Linked DNA regions of Homo sapiens: all the other regions are linked to region 1. Evidence: promoter capture Hi-C in human tissues and cell types (Jung and others, 2019). All regions are on one chromosome and are shown on one strand. Each heading gives the region's core, a stretch centred on a gene start or on the middle of the fragment in contact. The rest is flanking DNA. Distances are from core to core; before and after follow the strand shown. Region 1 holds the start of TMEM14A (transmembrane protein 14A). Region 2 overlaps EFHC1 (EF-hand domain containing 1). Region 3 overlaps TRAM2 (translocation associated membrane protein 2).

Region 1 (4,372 bases), core at 1,291-3,790:
TGAATCTGTCTCTCAAAAGCCAGGGTGCCCCCAGAAGAACTGAGACAAACTGAGTTTCTGAACATTTGAAAATGAGGAGCAGGCTCAGGATCCACAGGGTGTAACCATCCCGTGAGGCCCTGCCTGAGCAGCCAGCCAGTCAGTGAGGCTCTTCACCTTACTTCCATTTCTCTGATTCCATCTATGTACAACTTACGAAAACTTGCATTATTATAGACTGGGAGTTCTTAAATTGGAATCTGTGAATCTAAAGGGGCCAGAGGATAGAAATCAGGAAATCTGAAAACTTCGATGGAAAAAAGTTTTTATTTATTTCCATCAGGAAAATAGGCAACAAACCACAGCAGTATTAGTACCTGTGTCTCTGTCATCACTAGGAATCACAGATATCCACGTTACAGATATCTTAAAATATTTATGTACAGCACCACTCTGAAATTATGGTAATAATTAGATCCACCCCCTAGGTCTTGTAATCTTTAATATGTTAATAAAGAAGCACATCTATTATGTGACAGATTTAAATGTTTAAGAATTTGATTTCAATGAAATTGCATTTCAATAAAATTGGCTTCCTTTGCAATCCTGTGTATTTTATTTTGTGCATTTCTCCAGACTGCCAAAGAGGTTGGTGACACATTGAAAGTTAAGAGTCTCTGCTGTGGATCATGCATAGAAAGCTTTACAAAACAGTTGAGGGGAATAGGCTTTCCTGCATCCTTACCTTGGGCTGCAGCCTTTCCATTAGCTGGAGAAGGCAGCAGCTGGTGCCTATGAGTTGAGAGGGCAGTGGTCCCTTTGCCTAAGAACCATCCTGTTCCCACATATTCAAGGGTATGGAATTCCCATAATATTCAAAGAGTTTTTCTTTAGTTTTAGGTGATACGCCTTGAGTAGGAATATCATGAGGCTGTTTCCAGCTTCGAGTATGTTGGTGATAGGGTGTAAGGGATCTCAGAGCATCTAGTCTTGTCCATATCTTAAATCCAGGCACTGAGGTCCAGAGGGGAGTTATTTACCCAGGTCACATCAGATGAAGATAATGAAGTATTCCAAGAGGATTTTAGTTTTATTCCAAATAGGGTAAGTGTTCTGAGAGTGTGAGGAGAGAAGGTGAGGAGGCTGGGGTAAGGATGGGCATAGAAGGGGATGGAAAGGAGGGCTGAGAGAACTCAGAACCAAATTTCAGGCTATCACTTTCTCCACGCCACATTCCAGTGCCTTGCCATCAACTCTTCTGTGAATCTTCAGGAATTTTATTAATTCCCCAGGACCAACTTAGACTTTCATAAGTTAGATGTAGTTATATTACTTCCCTGAAGCACTTTTATGCACAAAGAATAGATGTAGCAAACAAACTTCACAAGATTTAATTTTTGAGTTTCCTTTTTTATTCTGAGGAATTCCGCTGTAATTCTCAGTGACACAGAACCTCTAGAGCTACTTCACTATGACAACCTTCTTCAAATCTCCAAAGGGCTGTTACATAAGGAAGAGGGTCGGAGTTCTGTATTCAATCAAGAAGGCAGAAGATTGAGATGATAAGTTGCTACAGGGAGGCATAATTTAAAGTCAATTTAAACTGTAATCCCAGCACTTTGGGAGGCAGAGGCGGGAGGATTGCTTTGAGCTCAGGAATTCAAGACCATCCTGGGCAACACAGTGAAACCCCGTCTCTACAAAAAAAAAATAGTCGGGTGAGGTGGCACACACCTGTAATCCCAGCTACTTGGGAGGTTGAGGCTGGAGAATCGCTTGAACCCAGGAGGCAGGAGGCAGAGGTTGCAGTGAGACGGGATGGTGCCACTGCACTCCAGCCTGGGCGACCGACTGAGATCCTGTATTTAAAAAAAAAATAAGGTCAGTTTAAGTTTCGTTCCTGGGATTGAGCGGATTGCCTTGCATTAGGCAAGGTTTTAAGTGCTTTCCAACTCTGGAATTCTATACCTTTCCCAGTAGATATCTAAACCCAGCAAATCCTGGGCCTGAAGTTTAAAACTAGGATCCTCGTCTCCCAACCACATCTAGATGATCCCATAGTGTAATGAAGGGTGCTTGGGCTTTGACACCAGGCAAACTTGGATTTTGACCTGGGACAACTAAGTCACTTGACCTCACTGAACCTTAGCTCCCTCCACTGACAGTGGGGACAGTCTGCTGGAGGGTGTGTAGAAGACCTCGGGTTGCCTTTTGGAGGTTCTGGAAATGTCCCTTGAAAGATGAATGGAGTTAATTTAAAAATCTTCGCCTTCTGTAATTTTGGCTTCTTGCAAACACGCTTCCTGCCAGTCCTGCTCCGTCAGGCGGGAGGCAGCAAACCCCAGCCCTGGCTCCAGGACAGGGCCGAAGGCAGGATAGACGGAGCAACGGGTCCGGCTGCCGCCGGGATGTTGCAGCACAGGGCCTCCTGGCTGCCTGGCCTACAGGCCGCCCGGATTCAGCCGGAGGGCATGGACCGGGTGGAGTCCTGCAAGGCGAGAAGGGACACAGCGCATGCGCGCGGCAGGGAGGGCGTTTCCAGGAGGGAGCGGCCTTTGCTCAGCGCGAGACGGCTGGGCGCCGAGTGGGACAGCGCTGGTGCGGAGACTGCTTCCGGACTCCAGGTACCGCGCTTGGCGGCAGCTGGCCCCAGACTTCTGTCTTTTCAGCTGCAGTGAAGGCTCGGGGCTGCAGGTGAGCTGTGCATCCCGCAATGGAGACCTTCCTGCTCTGAATTTTCTTACAAAACTGCAGAAATATAAGGGGCGTTGCTTAGCGGGCATCCCCTCCCCCGCGCCAAACCTGTACAGCAAACGATGATGCAGAGGACCTTGAGGGGATTTTGCAGGGCATCGGTCTTACCTCCGCGGTATCATTTTTCTCCTCCTCCCGAGTTTCTGCCTTCTGGTATCCCTAAATATCCCACCTATCCTGCCTCCTACCTTCCTGGATCTGGGGTGGTGGGGTGGGCTCATGGACCATTGCAAAATGCTTGGCAGGATTTTAACCTTCTCAGCACCACCCAGACCCCACTCGAAAATGTGCCTTTTGTGCCCTCCAAGAGCTCAAGGGTAGGTAATTGTTATATCTTTAGCATGTGAAAATGCTTTTTATGTAACAGTTCACCGAAAATCTCTTAATTCTCCGAATTTTGGAGGATTTGGGGCGGGCAGCGAGGCTGTCCCCTGTCACCTTGTTTTGTACCTGGTATGGTAAATCGTTTTGCTGCATTGCATCCAAGATGCGTTTTAGTCCTTCCAAGGCTTGAGCATCACATTTGTGATGAGAGCGTGTGATGTGCTGTGCACATCCTCTCCCACCTTATCCCTTCCATGTTAACACAGCCTCTGGCTTTAATGTGTGCTTCTGGCCTGGCCACATGGCTCCGTCATGGAATAGGTGATTCTTTTGTCTGAATATTCTCTGTGAGAACAGAATCTTCTTGCAAGCATTGGGAGTAGATTTATTTTGCCTCTTTAGAACAACAGTCAGTTCGCTAAGGAGATTAAGGGGCTACCTGTTTCCTGGCAATAAAGCTGTATTGGGTAGGTCAGTTACAGAATGTCTTCAGGCAGAAGCTGTTCCTTTGGTTCACTCACTCATTTATTCATTTAACAAGTATTTTAAGTACCTGCCTTGTGCATGGCAGGGTTCTTGGTGCTGTGAGGAGGACAAAGATAAACTGAACCTTGGTTTGCCCTCAAGGAGCTTGGCTGGCTGAGAGTTGAGAGAATCCCAACCAAGTAAAAGGGTATGGGTCCTCAAGAGAAGATCGCAGGAAGAGCTGGGGGGCTCAGGATGGAGTGGAATTAATCTTTCACAACAGCTACTTAGCTTTAGGAGAAAATTAGGTCTAGAAGTTACACCTGATAATGAAAGAACTCTCATAAGCTTCAGATCTGTATGTAAGGGTGTTTTCCGGACTGTGTGTTGGGCGTCTCAGACTGAATACATTCTAAACAGGTCCCATCATTCCTAGCCACCTCCCTCTTCCCACCGCCACACACCTGCTGCTGTTCCCATGTTCTCTGTCTCAGGGAATAGCATGAGGCTCCCCGACTCCCTACTTCTCCTAATGGTCTAAGCCAGATACCTAGGGGTGAGTCATCTCTGATTCACCCCTGACTTTCCCTTCCCGCCTCAAATTCAATTCTGATTCTACCTCCTGAACTTCTGAAATCTGTCCACCTTCTCTCCATTCTCATTGCCATTTCTCTAGATAAGCCTACCGTTATCAACTAAGCTCTTGCTTACTTTACTGCAACAGCTTCCCGATTTATCTCCCTGCCTCACTTCACAACCCATCTTCACTACTGCAACTGGGAAGTGCTTGCTGGAATTTAAATCTGATTGTGAGGCTCCCTTCAGTGATCCTTCATTGCCCTTAGGACGG
Region 2 (4,372 bases), core at 244-2,743, 230 kb before region 1:
TTGGTAAATGATACTTGCTATATTCTAGGAAAGCTTACCATCTAAAGAATTTCTGAAATGAAACCATTTTTAAATGAAAAAACCTCTTCTATATGTAAAAAGTCCTCTATTTCGTAAGTTTGGATTTTTTAATACAAAGGAAACTTTTATTAAAGTTACATGCATAGAGGATATAGGTGGCCTTTCTTTACTACAAAGTGTAGGAATTAGGAAGTCAATTCCAAATTTGTCTTAGTTAAAAAAATATTTCTAGCAGCAAAGATATAGTTTCTGAAGTATTTTATGTCCCTATTCCAGGATACCTAGTGCCATATGTGACTAATTTTTACCATGCACTGAGCTCCTATGAATCCATTATTGTTTTCATTTAGTAGTTTGTTTAACAGATATTTATTTGCATGCCTGCTTTGTTCCATGCACTGTTCTAGGTGCCAGATGTTTTCAGGAAGGTACTTGATATTTTTCAGATGACTATGACAAGCTAATAGTGCACCATTTCTCCTTTCCTTGCATGTTATAGGTACTTGCCCCTATAGAGGTTCCAATCTTGTTGGAGGAGATAAGCAATAGCAAATAAATAGATTGGTTATATGTCAGATGATGATAACAGCAATGGAGGAAAATAAAGCTGAGTAAAGGGAATGGAAGTTGAGGGGCTCTTTATAGAGGCGGATCAGAGAATGCCTCAGTGATAAGATGACATATGAATAGAGGCCTGAAGGAAGTAAAGAAAGGAGCCATGGCATCAGTGCCATTCCAAAGCAATAGAGAAAAATAGCTTCAAAAGTAGAGGTGCTAGACCATCTTTGAGATATTCTCCCGTTCCAACATATTTTTATCTCTTTGCTTTTTAGGTGTCTGAGGTCTTATATATCATAGGCAGTTTCACAATTGTACCAACAGTGAGAAATGATAAAATGTTATCTAAACATAAATGTATTAACAATTATTTTTACAGTTGTGTTTTCATAACAATTATTTTTACAGTTGTGTTTTTATGGGCAATTTGAACATTTGCAAGTTAATCACTGAGCGTTTGACCTAATCTATTTATAGTCGGTTCTCATTATTGACAGTAATTAGGACTATAAAGTCACCACAAACACTGAATTAGTGAATACTGAACCACTAGTCTTAGAGGAAATACAGGGTTAGGTTCCCACTAATCTCTGGCCACATTTTTGTCAACTGATCAATACATAAGTTTGATTCATGTATGTTTCTGTTTAAAGACACCTTATTTAATATATACGGTTGATTCATTAACATTAAACTCACACCCAACAGCACTATAACTCACGTCTGAACAAAGCTTATCTAAGACATGCATTTTCTCCATGAGGTGTGTTACAGCCTTCTTGTGCTTAGGAACACTAAATAGCACTTCATCACTAGGCACTGGGACCCTTTAAACAGCAAAATCACCAACAAAAAACACAAAAATGCAAAAAATCTGGCACCTTCATGTATATGTATATGTATGTGTATATGTATCACATTTTCTTTTTCCAGTTTACCATTGATGGGCATTCAGGTTGATTCCATGTCTTTGCTATTATGAATAGTGCTGCGATGAACATACTTGCGGGTATGTCTTTATGGCAGAATGATTTATATTCCTTTGGGTATATACCCAATAATGAGATTCCTAGGTCAAATGGTAGTTCTGTTTTCAGGTCTTTTAGGAATCACTACACTGCTTTCTACAATGGTTGAACTAATTTATACTCTCATCACCAGTGTATAAACATTTCTTTTTCTCCACAACCTTGACAGCACCTGTTATTTTTTTACTTTTTAATAATAGCCATTCTGACTGGTGTGAGATGATATTTCATTGTGGTTTTGATTTGCATTTCTCTAATGATAGTGATGTTGAGCTTTTTTTTCATATGGTTATTGGCCATGTGTATGTCTTCTTTTGAGAAGTGTCTGTTCATGTCCTTTGCCCACTTTTTAATGGGGTTCTTTGCTTTTTTTCTTGTAAATTAAAGTTTCTTATAGATGGTGCATATTGGACCTTTGTCAGATGCATAGTTTGCAAATATTTCTTTCCCATTCTTTAGATAGTCTTTTTACTCTGTTGATGCTTTCTTTTGCTCTGCGGAAGCTCTTACGTTTAATTAGATACCATTTGTCAATTTTTGCTTTTGTTGTGATTGCTTTTGGTGTCTTTGTCATGAAATCTTTGCCCATTCCTATGTTTAGAATAGTGTTGCCTTGGTTGTCTTCCAGGGTGTTTATAGTTTTGGGTTTTACATTTAAGTCTTTTATCTATCTTGAGTTGATTTTTATATCTGGTGTAAGATATATGGCTAGCATATGGCTAGCAGGTTATCCCAGCACCTTTCCCCATTGCTTATTTTTGTCAACTTTGTTGAAGATCACATAATTATAGGTGTGTAGCCTTATTTCTGAGCTCCCTATTCTATTCCATTGGTCTATGTGTCTGTTTTTGTACCAGTACTGTACTGTTTTGGTTACTGTAGCCCTGTAGTATAGTTTGAAGGCAGGTAACATGATGCCTCCAGCTTTGTTCTTTTGCTTAGAATTGCCTTGACTATTCAGGCTCTTTTTGGGTACCATTGAATTTTAAAGTATTTTTTTCTAGTTCTGTGAAGAGTGTCACTGGCAATTTGATAGGAATAGCATTGAATCTGTACATTGCTTTGGGCAGTATGGTGACTGTAAAGATATTGATTTTTCGTATCCATGAGCATGTAATGTTTTTTCATTTGCTTGTGTTATCTCTGATTTCCTTAAGCAGTGTTTTGTAATTCTCATTGTAGAGATCTTTCATCTCCCTGGTTAGCTGTATTCCTAGGTATCTTATTCTTTTTGTGACAGTTGTAAATGGGATTGTGTTCCTGATTTTACTCTCAGCTTGGCTGTTGTTGGTGTATAGGAGTGCTAGTGATTTTTGTATGTTGATTTTGTGTCCTAAAATTTTGCCGAAGTTGTTTATTAACTTAAGGAGTTTTTGGGATGAGGCTCTGGAGTTTTCTAGATATAGAATCATGTTTTCTCCAAACAGGGATAGTTTGACTTTCTCTCTTCCTACTTGGATGTCCTTCATTTCTTTCTCTTGACTGATTGTTCTGGCCAAGACTTCCAATATTGTCTTGGATAGAAGTTGTGGAAGAGGGCATCCTTTTCTTGTGTCAGTTTTCAAGAGGAATGCTTCCAGCTTTTCCCTGTTCAATATAATGTTGGCTGTGGGTTTTTCATAGATGGCTCTGATTATTTTGAGGTGTGTTCCTTTAATACCTAGTTTATTTATTTATTTATTTTATTATTATACTTTAAGTTATGGGGTACATGCGCACAACGTGCAGGTTTGTTGCATATGTATACATGTGCCATGTTGGTGTGCTGTACCCATTAATTTGTCATTCAATTAGGTATATCTCCTAGTGGTATCCCTCCCCACACCCCCCACCCTATGACAGGCCCCAGTATGTGATGTTCCCCACCCTGTGTCCAAGTGTTCTCATTGTTCAATTCCCACCTATGAGTGAGAATATGCAGTGTTTGGTTTTCTGTCCTTGCGATAGTTTGCTCAGAATGATGGTTTCCAGCTTCATCCATGTCCCTACAAAGGACATGAGCTCATCATTTTTTATGGCTGCATAGTATTCCATGGTGTATATGTGCCACATTTTCTTAATCCAGTCTATCATTGTTGGACATTTGGGTTGGTTCCAAGTCTTTGCTATTGTGAATAGTGCCGCAATAAACATATGTGTGCATGTGACTTTATAGCAGCATGATTTATAATCCTTTGGGTATATGCCCAGTAATGGGATGGCTGGGTCATATGGTATTTCTTGTTCTGGATCCTTGAGGAATCACCACACTGTCTTCCACAATGGTTGAATTAGTTTACATTCCCACCAACAGTGTAAAAGCATTCCTATTTCTCCACATCCTCTCCAGCACCTGTTGTTTCCTGACTTTTTAATGATCTCCATGCTAACTGGCATGAGATGTGTGGTTTTGATTTGCATTTCTCTGATGGCCAGTGATGATGAGCATTTTTTCACGTATCTGTTGGCTGCATAAATGTCTTCTTTTGAGAAGTGTCTGTTCATATCCTTCGCCCACTTTTTGATGGGGTTGTTTTATTTTTTCTTGTAAATTTGTTTAAGTTCTTTGTAGATTCTGGATATTAGCCCTTTGTCAGATGGGTAGATTGTAAAAATTTTCTCCCATTCTGTAGGTTGCCTGTTCACTCAGATGGTAGTTTATTTTGCTGTGCAGAAGCTCTTTAGTTTAATTACATCCCATTGGTCAATTTTGGCTTTTGTTGCCATTGCTTTTGGTGTTTTAGTCATGAAGTCCTTGCCCATGCCTATGTCCTGAATGGTATTAC
Region 3 (4,372 bases), core at 792-3,291, 130 kb before region 1:
CCTGATTAGAATCTCACACATCCCTTCATGACCCACCTCAATTGTAACCTCTGTGAAGCCATTCCCAGCTGTTCAAGGGGCATGATCTCTGCTTGCCGGATGCACTCTGTGTCATGCTCTGCTGTATTTATCATTTCCATACCCTTGTTCATAGTTCTCATCAGGCTCTCACCTCCTCCACAGTTCTCATCAGACTCCTCACAGTCCCACAGGCAGGGACTGTGCCGTCCCGTTCCCATTTATCCTCGCAGCCCCTCTTACGTAAGGAGCCCAGATGCACACAGTAAGTGCTCAGTAACGGCTCATTGCTTAAGATGAAAAATCAAAAGCCAAGTCAGCTTCACTCAGCTGTACTTATTCCCCCTCTGTCGTGGGAGCTGCCCCCAGTGCCATCATCCAGGCTGTCCTCTACCATCAACGGCCTTCTCTGTGAGACCTTTCCAGGCACTAAGCCACCTGAATCCAGCTCTGCCACAGAGCCCCTCCTGCCCACGCTAGCCATGTTGGCTCTCCCTCTCTGAACTCCACTCATATAGGTCATTCCTGGCCCAACCACCTAACACTTCATATTGTCTGACATGACTCCTCTGAAAATAAACCTCATCTTCTCAGCCTGAAATCCCTGTGAAGGAAGATCAGAGGAGTTGGAAGAAATGAGAGAAAGGAGGAGCCAGGAGAAAGCAGGCAGGCATAAACCAAACACTCTACCCTGCCTAGGCACATATCTCCCACTTGATTTCATTCAAGAAATGCACATGTCTTTTAGAGCACAGGGTGGAGACCTCTGTGGGGCTTGGGTTGTCTGCCATCCATTCTCCTCTCTTAATGGCACCAGGGTTTCCTGAGGGAAGCCTCTCTCCAGCTGTGTGTGGGCATAGGATGTGTGTGGGGTCACTACGGGGGATGGGAGGATGGAGGGGATAGACCCTCTCCTCAGGGCAGGAGCTGGGCCAACCGGACACCCTGCCCTGGGCTCTGGGTCTTGGGCGGGTATGAGGAGGTGCTGCTGGCCCCCACAGAGCCTCCTTCAGTTGGCCAGGGTCCACTTCTAGGACACATTATCATTCAATGGGAAGAGCACTGGTGTTCAACTCCGGCTGCACATTAGAATCCCTGGGGGAGCTTCTAAAATCTCTGTGCCTGAGCCACACCCCAGCCAATTAAACCAGACTCTTTGGGGCATGGGCATTTTGTCAAACTCCCCAGAGCATTCCAATGCGCTGCCAAGTCTGAGAACTTTTGCATTTTTTTTAAAGGAAGATAGACATCTGGTATGTGGGCTCTACATATATTCTTGCCCTCACCCAACATATACAGTTAACTGTCATCATTCACATGAATTATGTTCTCTCAAGTCACTGCAAACACTGAATTAGTGAACACTGAAACCTTGTTCCTGGGAGAAATACAGGGTTAGGTTCCTGCAAGCCTCTGGTCCCATTTTTGTCAACAGATCAATTCATAACCTTGTTTTATGTGTGTTTCTGTTTAAAGACACCTAATTTAACATATATTGTTGATTCATTAACATTGAATTCATGGCCAACAGCGCCATAACTCATGCCAGAATAAAGCTTGTCTAACCACATATGCTATCTCCATGAGGCACATCATAGTCATCCTACGCTTAGGATGCTAGACAGCACTTCTGCATGACAGTTGGGGGCCATTTTTAAATAGTGAAATCACCAAAAAGCAGCAGAAAAATGCAAAAAATGTGGCACTAAAGAGACTACGAAAAGGACATCTGTCTACAGGATGAGAGCCGGAACTGGAGGCAGAGTGTCGCCTTGTTTGGCCTCAACTGGGAATGTGAGTGTTGGGCAACCCAAAAGTGTTTGCAGCTCTGCACATCTCTGTGAATGACCAAAGAAGCTGATTTGGGGGTTACAAATAAATCTCAGCAAGTAAGCGAATTTGCAAAAACAAAATCCACAAATAATAAGGATCAAACGTATCAGGGAAAACCTGAACGTCAGCACCATGAGGGCCAAGATTTTTTTTCTTTTTTAACAACTGTATTCAGGTATAATTTACACAACAAAAAAAAAAAATCACCCATTTTAAGTGTACAGCTCTAAAGCATTTATCTTTATTTTTAAACTGTCTCTTCCTTGGGGAAACATAAGCTGTAGGAGCGTGGGGATCTGACCTGCCTTGATGATCTGACTTGCCTTGTTTGAGGTGCACATCCATGGATGGCTTCAAACTGCCCCAGAACAGAGCGGCACTCAGCAAATGCTTAAATGAACACAGTGACTAAGCAGGAGAGAGTCGGTGCTGTGCTCAGCTATCTGACCCTCATCCTGTCATCTGTCCACGATTATTCTTCTCTGTATGTCTTCTCTCTCTCGGTCTGTCCCAGAGCTGGGTGAATAGTAGGTTTCTCATAAATTCCTATTTGACAAACTCATACTGTAAGCAGCTATAATATTTAGTGACTACAGATGAATGCTTAACATGTTTTCTGAACATGATTCTGAGAGAACAGGATCTACGGCCATAATCATGACAAAAATACTAGATCCCAGTATTTTTCCATCCCTAGCCCCCCTGGTAGTAGCAGCAGAAACCATTCTAAAAAGTGCAACTTTCTCTGTAAACAGCCATGCTTGCTCCCACATTACCATATCTCAACAAGATGGTGTCAGTTTCCCTGGTTTATAGATGAAAAAGCCAAATTTGGGGCACAGAGAGATAAAGTAGCCTCCCGAGACCTCACAACTATACAAGCAGAAAAGGCAACATTCAACTTGATTTTTTAAAAACCTTGTCCCAAAAACAAACTTAGGAGGCACACAATACTGCACATAGAATAGAATGGTAATGTAAAATGGAAGCAGGAAAGAACACAAAAAATATGCATTTTAGGCAAAGAAAAGAAGCAAGGAATGAGGCTGATCCACAAAAATGCATTCCAGGAAGTCCTACTCATTGGCTAAAGGTGGCCAGAAATTTGGCTCCAAGCTTTTCTGCAGCCACCTGAAGGAGTGATCAGCTTCTAGATTGACCACATCCATCCATTAAAAAAGCAAAAAGCACTAGTCAAGAGCAGACTTACTTCTTCAGCCTTCTTCTGTGCCTTAAAAGGTCCTTTAGCACCCCAAGTCTTCACTCCATGACCCTCTCCCGACCTCAGACTAGGGATGAAACCACTAACAAGTCCCTCTCCGCAAGCACCAGCTGAGTTCCTGTAGCACACAGGGCTGAGAACCAGGAGCCTATTAAAAATGTCATTCCAATTATTTCTCATCCCTCTAAGGCTGTTTATAGGAAACATTATTGAGTTTAATAGCATTTTAAATGCCAAGCTCAGTGGGTAAAAGGTTAAAAGTGACAACGTGCTAATACACTAATGTAAAAGGAGAACACTGAATTATGTAGGAAGGGTCACATCACACACACACATATACACAGAGAGAAAGAGAGAGTGAGAAAGAGAGAAAGTTTCATTAAATTTTTAACTAAAACAGGGCATCAAACACAAAGGCAAAGGCCTTGAGCATGCTTGTGTAGCCATAACAAACCAAAACTGTTTCACATGCCATGCTGTATTAGGGGCACATGAACCTGAGCTCTTGGCTGCAACTAGACCAAGGATGCTGGTGAAATAGCTGCTTCCAGCTAAGCATAGTGGATGTGGATTCCAGTCCCAAGTCTGCTGTGGGCCAGCTGGGTGACCTTGGGCAGGACATTTCACCTCTCTAGACCCCAGTTTACTCATCTATTAATAACGACAACAACAGTTAATGTTATCGAGTGCTTATTTGGTGCCATGCATGAGTCCAAGGGCTTCACATAAATCTATCTCATGTCATCCCCACAATGACCCTACAAGATAGGTACTAATCATGTCCCCATTTCACAGATAAGCACGGGAAGGATAAAGCCAAAGGAGCAGCTCAGAACGAATGTCCTTAAAGGTCCTTCTCACCCTCAGCTCGAAAAGGTAAACTTTACCTGATTCTACTTACTTTCCAATGCCCAAAACGCAACCTTACACTGACAAACTTTCTAAGAGGTCTTTCCAGAAGTTTAAAATATATTGTTGCTTCTTCACTTTGTGAAGATAAGGTCTGGGTATCACCTATGTCTGACAGAGCAAGAAAATAAGGCCTCTCGGGTTAATCCACCACCTGCCAGCCACAGGCACTGGGTACACCTAGGCTTCCAGATGCCCAGATAGGTTCTCCTTTCACTGCAAGTTGTTAGCTGGTCACCAAAGATAAAAGAGAAGAACTGTGATGAAAGCAGTTTCATGGCTTCTCTTTTAAAGTATTAAATCCTTTGGTTCAGTTTATTCTGTTTTTTTTTTTTTTGGCAGACACATCCATGCATTGGCACTTGGAAGGGGCTGTGTGGGCAGACCAGC

The links. The method cuts DNA at HindIII sites, captures the fragments that hold promoters and counts their contacts. A contact is called where the count stands out against the background at its distance.
Region 2: a fragment that was not itself captured here is called in contact with the fragment with the promoter of TMEM14A in region 1 in 3 of the 25 tissues and cell types used here (dorsolateral prefrontal cortex, hippocampus and lymphoblastoid cells).
Region 3: a fragment that was not itself captured here is called in contact with the fragment with the promoter of TMEM14A in region 1 in 3 of the 25 tissues and cell types used here (H1 embryonic stem cells, IMR-90 fibroblasts and mesenchymal stem cells).

Annotation. Positions count from the first base shown.
Region 1 is chr6:52,668,573-52,672,944 of GRCh38, forward strand. TMEM14A (transmembrane protein 14A) reads left to right here and starts at 2,541. Exons shown (of 5, transcript NM_014051.4): 1 at 2,541-2,673. LOC730101 (a long non-coding RNA gene) reads left to right here. Exons shown (of 3, transcript NR_024405.1): 3 at 1-581. RefSeq lists enhancers at 1,757-2,257, 2,246-2,405. The HindIII fragment of the contact is 4,412 bases long and covers 198-4,372 here.
Region 2 is chr6:52,439,016-52,443,387 of GRCh38, forward strand. All of the region lies in intron 3 of EFHC1 (EF-hand domain containing 1), which reads left to right. Among named protein-coding and RNA genes, the nearest start is that of EFHC1, 21 kb to the left of the region's middle. The HindIII fragment of the contact is 6,132 bases long and covers 1-4,372 here.
Region 3 is chr6:52,537,499-52,541,870 of GRCh38, forward strand. All of the region lies in intron 1 of TRAM2 (translocation associated membrane protein 2), which reads right to left. Among named protein-coding and RNA genes, the nearest start is that of TRAM2, 37 kb to the right of the region's middle. RefSeq lists an enhancer at 42-101. The HindIII fragment of the contact is 4,285 bases long and covers 1-4,184 here.